Regions from separate parts of the Homo sapiens genome. Here region 1 is linked to region 2. The links are contacts of gene promoters, found by promoter capture Hi-C in blood cells and fetal thymus (Javierre and others, 2016). All regions are on one chromosome and are shown on one strand. Each heading gives the region's core, a stretch centred on a gene start or on the middle of the fragment in contact. The rest is flanking DNA. Distances are from core to core; before and after follow the strand shown. Region 1 overlaps RPS24 (ribosomal protein S24). Region 2 holds the start of ZCCHC24 (zinc finger CCHC-type containing 24).

Region 1 (3,511 bases), core at 64-2,563, 1.4 Mb before region 2:
GTCAAAAGAATTAGTCAAAATTTGTCCTCTGACCTAGGTCTGAAGGACATTTAACACATTGATTGTTCTCTTCATCCAGCCTTTGAGCCCTATGAGTTAGTGCCCTTAGCCTTTGAGTCCCACAGGTATGGAGGAGCTACCTGTGGGGACCTGAGCCATCACTATTCCTGCTTCAAGTTACACTGGTGCCTCTCACTAGCACTGCTCTGAAAAGCCAGCTGGAAAAATCAATGCATTTGAGTACATAAATTCTTTGGCTCCAAAGAAATGCCATAGCAATATTGCTTTTAATTCAGTTTTGTTTAGATGTTAGAATTGGTATTTGTTCTTGCTTTTTGGTTGCGATGGAGTTATATACTAAGTTACTTATACTAAGGCATTAGTAGTCTCATATCTGAGGAGCAATTGTATTTTTAGTTCAGCTAAATTAATGCCTCTTTTTAAATACTAACTTGTACTACTTTTGTGGCTGTGAATGGTATCTTTTATTGAACTGAGGCAGCTTTTAAAAGACTTGCCTGATCATTTAGAGCACTCCCATTGAGGTTAAATTAGACTTGAATCTGTAATGATTCTCGTAACTGTTCCTGGTGTGTGTCCAGCACAATGTTGCTGGGCAGAGCAGAGGGGCAGAGGCTCAGGTATGTACTTCATTGACAAGTGGGCAAGGCCATCCTGGGTACCACATTGGCTTAATGATCTCTTCATTGTGAAGTCCGGCTACCTCGTTTGCATAAGAACTACAGTAATCAGGCAAGGCATTGTCAGAATTGGGAGGAATAAAATCAGTGAGTCTGGAAGGAGTGCTCTGTATACAATTGCAAAGAACAAAATGGTCATCTTTAAGGTACCTGATTGCATGCACTTAAATGCAGATTATTTTGGAGTTTGAAAAGGGACTATTAATGAAATCTTTCTTTTCCCTCCTTTCTCTTTTTCCCTTCCCCGCCACTGATTCAGTGAGCTGGAGATTGGATCACAGGTATAATTCAAGCTTTTCATGTAGTCATGTAGATCACTAGACTCCTTGGTGTACTGACGTAGCAATTTAAAAGCAGATCATGTGTAGTACATCTAGAAGTAGATTTACAAATATTCTGAAGAGTTGTAACCTTTTAAAATACTAACAGTGACATGGTTTTGTTTTTAAGGTTTAGCAATATTTAGCCCATTATTTTTGTTTTATTCTTAACTTGAATGTTTGTAAATTTTATTTCTTGATGCTTTCATTGTGTTATGATAACATCAAAATAACTTGATATTCTAGGTTACTAATAATTGTTGTGCATGAGTGTTACTACTTTTGGAATTGAAGACTTTAAAGAATTTTAAAGGCAGTTGTTGACTAAACTTCTTTCTCTTGATTCACAGCCGAAGGAGTAAAGGTGCTGCAATGATGTTAGCTGTGGCCACTGTGGATTTTTCGCAAGAACATTAATAAACTAAAAACTTCATGTGTCTGGTTGTTTGAAATGTATTTGCAGTTTCCTGGGACTGCTAGGAGGTTAGTCTGCTGATTTCAGTTGCTGTCCAAGTTCACATGCTCCATGAAGCATTCAGTGAAAACTTAATGTCATGGGGTGGTGTTTGTTTGCTGCTTGGTTTATAGCTTAGGTGGGTTCATCTGGGAGTCAAGCTTGTAAATGCTGTGTTAAGAACCATGTCCGCGGTGGACGCAGTGTAGTGGCTCACAGTCATCAGCACTTTTGGGAGGTTTGGGTGGGATGATTACACTTAAGCCCAGGAGCTCGAGGCTACAGTGAGGTGTTTTTTTTTTCGAGACAGGGTCTAGCTTTGTTACCTAGGCTGGTCTTGATTGAACTCGGGCTCAAGCGATCCTCCTACCTTGGCCACATAAAGTACTGGCATGAGCGACCACGTCTGGCTTAGAGTCTAAAAAGTACCATGTCTGGATAAACTGGAGAAATCTCAGGAAGCAGTAGAGAGCTGAAAGACTTGGTTGGGCATGAAGGGGACTCAGGAAAAGCAATACCGTGAAGGCAGAAGGGTTGAGGTTGCAGGAAGGAAGGGTAGTGGAATGTTTTGGAGAAAAGATGGTCACAGCCCCTGCATGGAGCACCTACAGACAGGAGGGCAGGGCTGAGAAGAGTTAAGTCATGGGGCTGGGCCTGCTGGCCAGGGGGTGGTTGGAGTTCTGTTTTCATATCTACAGAGGCTGTGTACTTCGGTTTGTGGGGCCTCTGGCCCTGTAGGTTCTCTTGCTAAGGAATCTGCTACTACTTTGCTAGGACCAGGAAATGGCTTACTAGTACAGAACGTGTGGAAGAATGGGGTCTTTGATGTGATTTGACATTTTTTGATGAACAGTGCATACCAGGCTGAAGGTAATGCTAGGGGCAGCAAAGGTTGGGGTTTGAGATGCAGTTTCCTGTGACTGAGCTGGAGTGTGGAAGCAGAGAAGGCACCCTGTGAGCAGCTTGCAGAGGCAAGGTGGTGAGGATCCTGACAGTGCTGCAGGGATGGGATGGGATGGGATGGGACAGGACGTGGAGCTGGGGGTGGTTGCTAAGTTGATGCAGGGAGAGTGGAAGGAAGCAATTGAGAACTGAAGGGTAGGAAATAGTTTCTGATGTGAAGAAAAAGGGCATAGCTGCAGAGAGCCTGAATGATTGAAGGTTGGCATCAAAGTCACGAAGTGGGGAGGCTTTTCTGTTCAGCTGTGCTCAGGGCAGAAGTTGTAGTCTTTCAGCCAGTAGCCTTGGGAAGGGAGGTGGGATGAAACTCAGGCTTGGCCTATTTTTCCAGAGGATCCACTTGGGTTGTGATATTATAGAAAATGTGGCAGTCTTGCTGTGAGCCTTGTTAGGCATAACATTTGGAAACTTGGCAAATTTTACGTAAAGGTCTGGATTTCCAGCCTCTTGAAATACCAGAAGCAGCAGTAGTAGCCCACCTTCCTGTTTGATAACAATTGGCAGGGCTCCAGGCTGGCTGCATCTGTTGGGACAGGTATTCTCTGGTCTCCACAGCCTTTGCTCCTACGGCCAGCTAACACCCTCCTCTACCTGCCCTCTGGTCTTCTGTCCCTGCTGCCTGCTTCTCTTCCATCTAGTCCATCCAAGTGTTTTTTGGGGAAGTCACCTGGTACCTTGTTAGGGTTAATTTGTCTTTTAAATTGGGCTCCCAAGGGTATCTGCTAGCTACCCTGGCTCACAAGGCTATTTTGAGGCTGAGGATGTAACAACTGTGAAAACAGTTTGGAAACTAGTGCTAAGCAATTGTTTGTCAGGAAGCAGGGACTTGTGGGAACTCAAACTGTGGACAGATTCAGCACATTGTAGGCCCTCACAGTAACCAGGCTACCCTGTGCTGTCAGCAGGCTTTGGAAGAGCCTCCATAAAATGCAAACTTGACTTTACTAAGCTGAATCAATATTGAGGGAGCACATCCCTTCCTTCAGCTTGTCACTGATGGGAAGCTGTGGCTTAGAGAGAGCAGGGATCTTTGAAGAGTGATGAGAAACTCAGCTAGAGGTGGTTCTGGGAAGGTA
Region 2 (3,185 bases), core at 418-2,917:
ATATGTCCATGCCTCCCCTAGTAAATAATGGCAGAGTTGAACTCAAGGGCGACCCTCTGCCTCCCTCTCTTACCCCCAGCACACCCTTGCGTACATAGGCTTTCCTCCCCAACCCATTCAGGACTCTGACTCTCCTAAAACTCACCGGTGTGCCCAGGTCTGGAAGGAAAGTGACCCCCATGTGTGTCCTCCCCCGAACACACCTCTTGCATCTTTGCAGAGAAAACCCCCACAAGGGGAGGAAGTGAAGGCCACAGATGGGTGTCTGAAATTCCCAAATGAGGCAGGAGTAAATGGAGGGAGGGGAGGAGTCCAGCCCACGGAAAGGAGTGGTATCTGGGCAGGCCCTGGAGACTCTTCAAAAAGGGCTGGGAGGTGGTGGCGATCTGTGTATTTATCTTGCTGGCAAAGAGGCGCTGCCCAGTCAACTTTGTAACTGAATCCACCAAACAGGCAGACTTTGCAACACAGCCGGCCCAGGTTTCTGCAGAAGGCGCTGGGCAGCTGGAACCTCTCCCCCCCCCTTTCTAGCCCCCCTCCCAAGAGCTCAAGAGGATTTCCCTTTCATTTCCTTCGAGGCTGGGAGGGCTGGGGACAGCGCAGTCTGTGGGGTCAAGCCCTCAGAAACCACTTCCTATGTGGCTGGGGGAGGGCGAGCAGCTGGAGGACGTATCTGGGGTCCCCGAGTGAGAACAGCAGGAGAAGCCCTCTGGGCAGTCACTGCTCTCCAGGGTGCCTTTCGGGTCGGGAACCGCAGAGGTCGGAGAAAAGATTTTAGGCCCTTCCAGAGGAGCTCCGAGCAGAATCTGCACTCTCGGTCCCAGCCCGCGGTGGCCAGGACGAGGATAAGGTTGGGCGTGAGAAGGACACTTCGAAGGGGCTCCCCGCCCAGGCCGCACCCCAGCTGTCTGAAGAAAATCCGGAGACAACCCCTCCTCAACTCCCTCCCCCAACCCCTTTGGAGCAGGGCTGCCCTGGCAGGGAGAGGGGGCGGGAGAGCTCCGCCCCGGCCTGCATTGCTCCAGCCCGGGCTCAGCCGGGAGGTGACGCGCACCCGGCACCCCGGGGACTTCGGGCGGCGAGTTTGGCAGAGTTGAACGAAGCCAAGCCAAGCCGGGCCCGGCAATGCGGAGCCGGGCCGCGCCAGGCCAGGAAGAGCGGGTCAGACAGGGAACGGCCCGCCACGGTGGGGCGGTGGGGCGGTGGGGCGGTGGGCGGGGGCGCGCGGGGGCACCCACCTCTCCGCGCTGCAGCTGGAAGAAGCTGTTGAGATAGCTGGAGTGCAGGGGCGAGCCCAGCTGCTCGGGGCGGCCCTTGCCGAAGGCCAGCTCCGGGGGTGCGGCGCCGGCGGTCGGCTCGGGCCGGAAGGCATCGAAGGCGCTAGCCTGGTGCGTGTCCTGCAGCGACAGGTAGACCCAGTTGAGCAGCTGGGCGGGCTGGTACACCGAGGCGGCGCTCGTGTCGATGGCCGACAGCAGGCTCATTTTGTGGCGGCGGTGCCGGCCCCTCCCCGGCCGCCCGCTCGCGGCCCCCCTCCGCAGCGGAGGGGCGGGCACCGGGGAGCCTGTGCCCACTGCCCGCCTCCCGAGCCCCGACGGTGATCGCCCCGCGCCCTGCGCCCCGCGCGCTGCCCGCAGCCGCTGCCGCTGCCGCCGCCTCCCCCCGACTGCGGCCCCGGCGCGCGCAGGCGGTGGAAGGAGGCAGCGAAAGTTGGGCAGGAAACTTTTGGCCCCGCCCCTCCGCCCCGCCCACTGCGTCCCGCCCCGCCCGGCGATCCGCTATCTGCCTCGCGGCTGACCCCTCCAGCGGCGGCTCCGGGGGTGGGGTCCACGATGCCCCGCCGCCCACTCCCTGCCCCGCCTGGCACTGTCCTCGCCCTGCATTGGCTGTCTCGTTGAATATGAACCGTCAGGGGTGGGGAGAGAGGGGAGTGAGGCTCATCTGCATATGCAGCACGGCGCGGGCCCGCCCATGCGAGGCCCCGCCCAAGCCCCACCTCGTCCCAGCCCGGCCAACCCAGCTCCCCGAGCTGCCGGGAGCTCAGTGCAGCCCCGGCCTAATCAATTTCGTCTCCCTCTGTCGTCAGCGCTCTTGTCTCGTTCTTTCCAAATCCTCTGCAATTGTTTTTCACTCACTTTTCCTTTCCTATTTTCCCTCCTTTCTCATACTCCTTCTTTCTCTCTCTCTTAGACTAGTACTAGTCTCCTGTGTCCGTCGTCCTTGTATGTGGCGCCCTCCGTGTGTGTGTGTGTGTGTGTGTGTGTGTGTATGTCCTTCTCTTTCTCTCACTCTTCTTGTCTCCTTTCTTCTATTTCCGTCTGGTCTGATGTTTCTCCCTGTCTCTCCCGCTCCTCTCTCAGACGCGTGTACACAGACGCACACACTTCTAACTCCCTCCTCTCGCTATCACCATCGGACCCTCCCCCTCCTACTTAATTCCTTCCATCTGCAGAATCACTTTGCGGGCCGGCTGCGCCAAGGGGGGCCCGGGTTCCTGCCCCAGGAAAGACTCCCCGCCCCCTCCCCCCCCCCTTCTCCTATTTCTGCTCTGGGCCCGCCTCGCTTCTCGACCCTCTTCCTCCACCCCGGCTCCAGCCCTAGCCCGCCCCGGTGCCTTGGCGAGTCGCCAGGACACCAGCCTGGGCCGGGGGAGCTCGGGAAAGCGGCTGTCACCCATCTCGCTGGGACAACTCAGCTAGTCCAAGACTGCCTGGAGGGAGCCCCGCCCCCGCCTCCGCCTCCGCCTGACGCCCCAGGAAGCCCCGGGGCCTTCACCGTCTCTTTCTCCGGGTGGTCTTTGCTGCGCCAGCACCGGGGACCTAGCCCAGAGGAACTCACCGCCTGGCTGGGACCGAGTCACCTCTCCCACTTTCAGTCTGGCTCTGGAGCCATTCCGCCCAGCGTTGGAGTGCCAGCTTGGCCACCGTCCAGCGGAATGACCTCTGCATGACGCCTAACCTCTGCGAGCAAGCCTGTTTTCTCCTCTGTAAAATGGGAGCAGTCATCCTCCCGCCGCCGGGGACATTTGTGTGCTTCCCAGCTTGGGTTTGGTAAGCGGAAGATATTCCATAAAGGACAGCTCTTCCCCGCCACCCACTCCACGAGTTACTCACATCACCTGCAGGGCACCTAACCACATCTATGGTCGCTCGCACCACGAAGGCCTTCAGTGATGACCAAATGCC

What was found. The method cuts DNA at HindIII sites, captures the fragments that hold promoters and counts their contacts. A CHiCAGO score of 5 or more calls a contact.
Region 1: a fragment that was not itself captured here is called in contact with the fragment with the promoter of ZCCHC24 in region 2 in 1 of 17 cell types (naive B cells); the score reaches 5.3 in naive B cells.

Annotation. Positions count from the first base shown.
Region 1 is chr10:78,039,244-78,042,754 of GRCh38, forward strand. RPS24 (ribosomal protein S24) reads left to right here. Exons shown (of 6, transcript NM_033022.4): 5 at 961-982; 6 at 1,372-1,454. The coding sequence ends at 963. Among named protein-coding and RNA genes, the nearest start is that of RPS24, 7.1 kb to the left of the region's middle. RefSeq lists enhancers at 146-657, 658-1,167, 1,488-1,989, 2,058-2,107, 3,388-3,497. The HindIII fragment of the contact is 642 bases long and covers 993-1,634 here.
Region 2 is chr10:79,443,957-79,447,141 of GRCh38, forward strand. ZCCHC24 (zinc finger CCHC-type containing 24) reads right to left here and starts at 1,668. Exons shown (of 4, transcript NM_153367.4): 1 at 1,239-1,668. The coding sequence starts at 1,484. LOC105378383 (a long non-coding RNA gene) reads left to right here and starts at 2,285. Exons shown (of 4, transcript XR_946104.4): 1 at 2,285-3,185. RefSeq lists silencers at 1,521-1,580, 1,591-2,100. The HindIII fragment of the contact is 21,833 bases long and covers 1-3,185 here.